Linked DNA regions of Homo sapiens: region 2 is linked to region 1. The links are contacts of gene promoters, found by promoter capture Hi-C in blood cells and fetal thymus (Javierre and others, 2016). All regions are on one chromosome and are shown on one strand. The core of a region is centred on a gene start or on the middle of the fragment in contact, and the rest is flanking DNA. Distances in the headings are between cores, read along the strand shown.

What was found. Contacts are between HindIII fragments. The CHiCAGO score rates a contact against its expected background, and 5 or more counts as called.
Region 2: a contact is called between the fragment with the promoter of KDM6A here and the fragment with the promoter of NDP in region 1, in 4 of 17 cell types (endothelial precursors, naive CD4 T cells, fetal thymus and 1 more). The highest score is 5.9, in endothelial precursors.

The regions. Positions count from the first base shown.
Region 1 is chrX:43,971,038-43,974,712 of GRCh38, reverse strand. It overlaps NDP (norrin cystine knot growth factor NDP), which reads left to right and starts at 1,323. Exons shown (of 3, transcript NM_000266.4): 1 at 1,323-1,409. It overlaps NDP-AS1 (NDP antisense RNA 1), which reads right to left. Exons shown (of 6, transcript NR_046631.1): 6 at 3,161-3,268. The HindIII fragment of the contact is 1,267 bases long and covers 359-1,625 here.
Region 2 is chrX:44,871,191-44,875,111 of GRCh38, reverse strand. It overlaps KDM6A (lysine demethylase 6A), which reads right to left and starts at 1,924. Exons shown (of 30, transcript NM_001291415.2): 1 at 1,400-1,924; 2 at 1,125-1,188. The coding sequence starts at 1,560. RefSeq lists silencers at 925-1,024, 1,035-1,114, 1,155-1,414, 1,755-1,984, 2,235-2,734. The HindIII fragment of the contact is 16,030 bases long and covers 185-3,921 here.

The DNA.
Region 1 (3,675 bases), core at 74-2,573:
GAAAGTTTTAAGACACCTCTTGCAAATATCAGTGACTGGAGTAAAGGTCCCATGGAAAAGTAATAAGGTGAATGTAAATTTATTAATGAATAACAAATAGTTTGATACAGAGTTGAACAAGACAGTTTCAGCATCAACAATTACATGAAGCTCCCAAGAAAAATTTCTTTTTGAGTTTTATAATGTATTATTTTTTCCACGAAATATATATATTTTAAATTCTCAGTTTAATTCTTCATCAGTAGTATTAATAAAACAAATTATTCTGGGTCTGATTTACCTGACATAAAATAATTATTAAATGTTCTTTGTATTTTCCTCCAAAATCCCTGACGGTTTTCTGTGTTAATTTTAAGCTTTCAAAGGGCAAGAATTATGAAATATTTGCCTTTGTAGTCCCACAGCTCATAACACAGCATGATTCAGCTGCAGGTATTTAACCCACACACATAGTTACCTTTGTCACTTTTCTACTAGTTGTTGTGTAATGGGTTAGCTTTATCTATTAGTTTCTCCTTCATATAGCTCAAGGAGTCAAGGAATACACGTTCTCATTGTTTCTAAATCAGACCTAAAGTTTTATTCTAAATGATGCAGATGAAGGGGCTTATTAAAGTGCCATTGTGAATTTAATCATGTATATGCTGCTAAAAATCATTTAATGGATGAACAACCCGGAAAAAAAGAACTCTCACCACCCACACACATCGTGATAAAATAGGGCAGCGTTTTGCACTTGCTTTAACAGCATCGCCTGAGAAAAAAATTTCTGGTTCCCATCTTTCCCCTCTCTTACTTAAAATTTCAACTTCATCACAGTCAGCTGCCGAATCGTTCAACAGAATGCCACACTGCCTTTGTATTTCCAAAACTATACGTCTCTATTGCGGACGGCACATCTTTATGGCAGCCACATGCTTGAAAAAGAATTAAATTCAGAATATTCATTTGGCCTCTTATTAGTTCCATAATACCATTAAAAAAGAAAGAAAGAAAGAAACTTCCTCGCCCTTGTTCTGCTACGCTGTTCCCATCGTAAGATGCTCCGTGGAAGGGAGCCGAGCGGTGGGCAGAGGCTGAGTCCCCGATAACGAGCGCCTCACATTTCCGTGGCATTCCCATTTGCTAGTGCGCTGCTGCGGCCGCACGCCTGATTGATATATGACTGCAATGGCACTTTTCCATTTGACATTCTCTCTCTCTCTCTCCCTCTCTCTCTCTCCCTCTCTCTCTCCCTCTCTCTCTCTCCCTGTGTCGCTTAAACAACAGTCCTAACTTTTGTGTGTTGCAAATATAAAAGGCAAGCCATGTGACAGAGGGACAGAAGAACAAAAGCATTTGGAAGTAACAGGACCTCTTTCTAGCTCTCAGAAAAGTCTGAGAAGAAAGGAGCCCTGCGTTCCCCTAAGGTAAGCAGGAAAACAAGCGCTGCCGGCTTGCCTAGGAAATCGCTTCTTTCCAAACCGAGCATTTCATCCTCCTCTCAGACAAAGAGACAACCTTTAAATACCACTTAAATTTGCATTACTTTAATTTGCATTAATCTGTAGCATGCTAGCATTGTGTTTCTTAAATGAACGGGTCTTTGAAGTCTGTGACAGAGCAGGGAGCCTCCTAGAAAAGCTTGAAAATATCTTTTGGTTTGACTTAAAGAGATTTTTCTTTTCAAACTCTCTGCGTAGTTAGATGTAACTTTGTGATGGTTCTTATAGTTGACCCCGTGAAAGGGGGCTGCGAAGCAGCAACTTGCCAACATGGATTCATGGAGCCCAGTATCTTCCCCAGCACCCTCATCCCACTTACAATGGGGGCACTATTAACGCAGGCAAGACTGCGAGTTTAAAAGCGCACTGTTTACTTTTATTACTACTTATGTATGCTGCTGATCTCCTGCCAGGGCTCTGCCGGAGTGCTCAGAATGACTTCAAACAATAGGCAACATTTATTTCTAGCTTTCTGTGTCACGCTTTGCAGGAATCCTGCTCCCTTGCACTCTTCTTTCAGCGTGCAGGTCTTCGCTTCCATAGATGCATTGGGGAGCACCGGGAGGAGATGAGGATGGATTTACTGTATGATTTTGATTGGGCAAAAAGTCCGAGGAAATGCATGCTGTTTGCCTTGGACTTATTGCAGGGGGTTATTTTTAGTCATCAGCTCGTCCCTGCAGCATGATGTTCAAGGAGTGACCGGGAAAGGATGCTCCCACCAGCACAGAGACCAGGACCTGTAGGAATGACTCCTACCTGCGGGATATTCCGAGGTTTCTTTCAAACTTTGGAATACAAGTTCTCTCTTTAAATGAACAATTGAGCTGTAGGAGGCCTGGGCATAACTCTTTCTTGGGGGACGGGAAGTTTGATTGTGTACAGAATGTTAATGACTCAGAACGCCCAGTAACTGAGGCTCATTGTAATAGACAAACCCAGATAAGCCTCCATGAGAGGCAGACTCCCATCTTTACTGAGATTCAGGTGCGGGAAAGGAAGCTATTTGGCAAGATGGGAGTCCCTTGTACAGTTCTTTGTAACTCATTAATAACAGATATGGCTGCTGTGAAACATGTCTCTTTTCATTTCTAATATTAGTGTATTTTAATTACAAGGAGCTGGCATTGGCAAATTACCCCAACACATAAGATTAAATACCAGGTGCATTTGAAAACAGAGAGATGACTGAAATGGGGAGTTGCTGTGGGTGTCAACCAAATACAGCGGGGACGGCACAATGCTTCTCAACTGAGCGTTTAAACCAGATGCAAATATCTGCTCATTTTCTTCTCATCAGTCTTACTAATTCAAGGAAACTTTATGGTCCTGTTTGCCAGTTTTCATTGCAAATTGGTACACAGTTTATGCAAAACTTTTCTGATTTTCTCTGATAACCAGCCCAATAAGCATCGCTGAATGAAAATCTGATATTTGAATAGGTTAATTTACAACTTTGGGGTATTCATTAGTCAAGAAAGCCATAAAAGACACTATGGATTCCATTGCTGTAAAATTTTATTGTAATTTTTTTTTAAAAAAACTGCGGTTAGCAAAGCATTTAGCTGAATCAAAACAATTTTCTTAGACTATTATTCAGATCATTACATGAGAGTATTTGAACACAAAATGCAATGTTTTGCATCATTTATTTTAAAATACATTTGGTTCAGGTAACGGGAGAACTGGCTGAGGCCTTCTTACGACTGTGTACCAAGCAGCTGACACCCACAGATGGAAATGTGCCTGTGGAGTTTTCAATCTTAATTCGAGTTCCAATGACACTGTCAAGGGAAAAATAAATCATTTTTCAATACATTTAACAATTTCCAACTCATTTATTTTCCTGGGCCCTTGAAAAATGTGGTGAGTTTCTTGGAATTATAGCCACCAATGGTGGCCAGCAATCTTTATTTTAAGAACTCACAATTCAAGTACTATTATTCTCTGGTTAATTATTTATTTCATCAATTTTTAAATAAATATTTATTAAGCATTTTCTAGATGCCCAGTGCTATGCTAGTCCCGATGGATGCAAAGGTGAATGAGACATTGTCCCATACTCTAATTCTCAGTCCATATGCCATCTCTAGTTAGATTTTGGAACTGAAATGGGCATTGCCAATGGGTAAAGTGGGCAATAACTTTCCTGTTATAAAGAATTATTTAAAACAGCTACTGGTTTCTAGAT
Region 2 (3,921 bases), core at 675-3,174, 900 kb before region 1:
CTTTCACGGTCCCAATTACGAAGAAAGTATTCAAATACCATTGCAATCAGATTTTGGTCAGGAAATATAAACTGATGCATACAGATTGAGACTCCAGCCTTTGTTCAATAGCTTACAGATGGATAACTAAATGTGCTACAGGTTGATAAGCATTTACCAGGCTTATGCATGCTGCTTCCAAGCTTATGAAAGGTATAAGAATTCTATATGCAAATAATCTTGGGTAATTTTTTTTAAACACCACTGAGCTACACACTCCGAAGGAAAGGCTTATTCACGGCTACTATTTATTTCCATGTTTACCTCTACACCCTCCCCCTAACCCCCCCCTTCACTTTCTCCTCCCACCCTGTCCCGCCATCTTGGGCCGATAGGAGCAGCCATTACTTAACTAAATGACAGTGCCAACAACTTTCCACACAAATAAAAAAAGACTACACCCCGAATCCTCCCCAGCCTCCCCTGTCAGACACACAGGAAATGAGGCTCCAGGAAGAGAACACGTTTACAAATAACTACGGTATTTCTATGCCAAAAAGACCCAAAAAGTAAACAAGTCACCTAACTTCAGGTAACACACACTGCAATCGAGATACATGTCAACAGCCCAATGCAAACTCTTCACCGACCTAAACTCCGTGAAACTTCCCCCTTCTGGGAGCGGGGACACAAGAAAGCCTAAAACATTTGGTTAGCAGTAGGCATCACGAACAGCCTGCTTGAAGGAAAAGAATTTTTTTAAACCCGTAGAGGCAAGTTAAGTCCGAAATTTGGGAAAATCTGAACACACTCACGATCCCTTGACCCTAAACAGGCACCTCGAAGATCATCGGCCTACCCTCAAAAAGCTGTAAAATAGCAGGCAGTTGTGTCGACCCAGTTGAGCCCGGCCCCAAAGCGATCCCGTCTCTGTTCCTCCAGCTACAAGAGGAAAAGAGCGATTTCGCAAGGGAGCAAGCAGGGTACCCGGGGGTGGGGGGAGAGCAGAGGCAGGAAATAGTTTCCGGAAGCCCCTCGACCATCGTCCGTGGCCACAATGAGCACAGACCCGGCCGCGGGGCCCGGGGCGAGCGCGGCGCCGGCCAGGGAGACGGTGTCCGCGCTCCGACTCGCAGCTGCCTTACCTTGCCCAGTAGGGCCTTCGTCCTGGCGCCATCTTCATGAAATCTCACGAACCCAAAGAGGCGGCTGTGGAGACAGACACAGTTTACTCGTTAACGCTCAGGGAACGCCACCGACCCGTCCCTGCCCGAGCCCGAGGCCCCAGCGGAGGCGGCGCGAAGAGCGCCAAACCGAGGTGCCCGCCCCGCCGCCGCCAGAGACAAGCCGCGCTCGGTCCTCCCGGGAGAGCGGCTACTGCCCGTCCGGAGCCGACCGGGCGAGTGACGGCGGCCCGTACCTGTCCAGTCCGCCGAGCGCCTCCCTCTCCTCGGCTGTCAGGCTGGGGGACGCCTCCTCGCTCTCGCCGCTCGCTTTTCCCGCCGCCATTTTCTTTTCCTCATCACCGAAAGCGGCGGCGGCAGCGGCGGCGGTAGCGAGCGACACTCCGCAGGATTTCATGGAAACGCAGCGAATTCACAACTCCAACGCCGACACCCCCCCTCGGACCGGGGCCCGCAGTGACGCCCCCAATCTGCGCGCGGGACCAGCACACCAACTTTATCGCCGCCTCCTCCTCCGCCGCGGGCGGCGGCGACGAAAAATCCCAACGCGGCGGCGGTGAAGGCGGCGGCGGCGGCGGCAGGGGCTGCGGAGCCCCCGGGTCGGCAGCGGCGGCTTTCGGCTGTAGGGTCACATCGCGGGGTTGGGCAGGGGGCAGCCACAGGCGGGGACGGCGGGAACGGCCGGAGCGCGCGGGGCTGGGGAGCACTGAGGGGATTCGTTGGAGACACAAACTTCCCCGGCACCAGCACAAAGTTGTTGTAATTGTGTCACACAGCGAACCCCACGCCGCCGCCGTGACCCCCCCTCCCCGCCCGGCTGGCGCCACCAATCGGCGCGGCCCGCACGCCTCACGTGACCTTTGTTGACTCACGTCAGCCGTGGCTCCACTTAACTTGCTAGCTGCCCGAGCCCCGCCCACCGAGGCCGCCACCGAGATGGGAGCGGGACGCAGGCCAATTCTAGCCGGTGGTTGGCTGCTGGGCGCGTCTGTCGGGGGAAGGGTTGTCACCGAGAGGGAGCTTCCTGTTAGGTTGTGCTGGTTAAATACACTGGGGCAGAGAATGGAGGGTCCGGGCCGTGTCACCTCGGGAACCGCGGCGGGCTCTGGAGGGGGAGGGGAGTGGTGGGGAAGGGCGAGGTCCGGCACCGCCCGCGGCGGGCGCGAGCGGCGGGCGAAGACGCCAAGGACGGCATTTGCCTGCCCGCGAGCTCTGGGATGTGCCCAGACCGCGGCTCCGGCCGTCCCGCGCGCGCTCCAGGGGTCCCGGGACCCCACAGGGCCTGGTACAGGTCGCGTAGCCGGGAGGCGGCGCACGGCCCTCGACCTCTGCCCTCCGAAGAAGGCTCAGACTTTTGGCACTGCTGGAAATAATGGCCTCCGCGAGGAGGGCGCTCGGGGAGCGGCTGCCGGTCCCGTGCCCCGCGGTCCGGGTGCCGCCCTAGGCCAGACCTGCGCTGGCAGCCCCGATCACCTCACCCGCGCCGAAAGTGAAGGGGGAAGGGCTCCCCTGACCCCCGCCCATACGCCCCAGGCCGGAGGGAATGAAGAGTCGCCCGCGGGGCCTGGCTTGCCGACCATGGCTCCCCACCGCCAAAGGTCTGTCTGTTGGCGGCACTTTGGGGCCAGATTTTCGTGCTGTGTTTACCCTGTGTCTTATCAGTAGTTCATTACAGTCTTACAAGAAAAAGCAATGAGAAATTGTGAAGCGGGATCTGCAGAATGTTGGGTTCTATTGCCATGATTTCAGTGGAGCCTTCTTACAAAAGTAGGGGCTGCTTGTGGACAGACCTGAGAGAAGACATAATTAAATCATCACAGCTGGTGGCCCAAGAAATCCTTTCTATCCCCCAAAACCTGCAGGTTTGTAACCCCTAGACAACAGTAACATTTTGTTGTTCTGTCTCTCAGGTGCAGGGGAAAGGCTTTAGTCTGACTTTTAATCTTTACTATAGGTGAAAAAAAAATAGGCCTTTCGACTACTCTTCTCAAAAGGCAAATTTATTTACTAAGCTGTATGTCTTATAACAGGGATAGGAAAAAATTGATAGACATATAAGGACAAGATTCTGTTTATAAACGGAGTTTTTTATATTTTCAATAGGTTTTCCACCTGTAACCAATAAAAATTATATATTTAAACTTGGATTTCAAAATATGACGAAGACAATTCAGTGCTGACCCAGTAATTCCTACCAGTATTCAGCGGGAAGCTATGGGAATCCCAACTGATTTTGCACACAGTTTTAAATTGTTCCCCTGAGACTAGTAACTAGACGAACAAACTGTAGTTTTGTATAGATTATAGTTCATGTTTAATTACTTCCTCTGAAACACCTTTCCCTTTATGATACTCCATTTTGCTTGAATGAGTGTGTACAAAGGGCCAAATCTTTTCTACGGCTAAATTAATACATTGTTAACTTTGTCACAAATGGTGACATTTAAAGCCAAGGAAATTTTGACCCCAGTAACTCGCTCGCACACTCTCTCATACACACACACACACACACACACATACACACACACTTGCACAAGCACAGATAGACATTTTGCTGGTATTTGACTATCTCCCTGAAGTTAGCAGTTCCTGACTCAGGTCCTTTTCAAGGATTATAAGGCTACTCAATCCCGGCCGGGCTCTGTGGCTCACGCCTGCAAAGGGAGGCCGAGGCGGGCGGATCACGAGGTCAGGAGTTGGAGAGCAGCCTGGCCAATGTGGTGAAACCCCACCTCTACTAAAAATACAAAAAACAAAA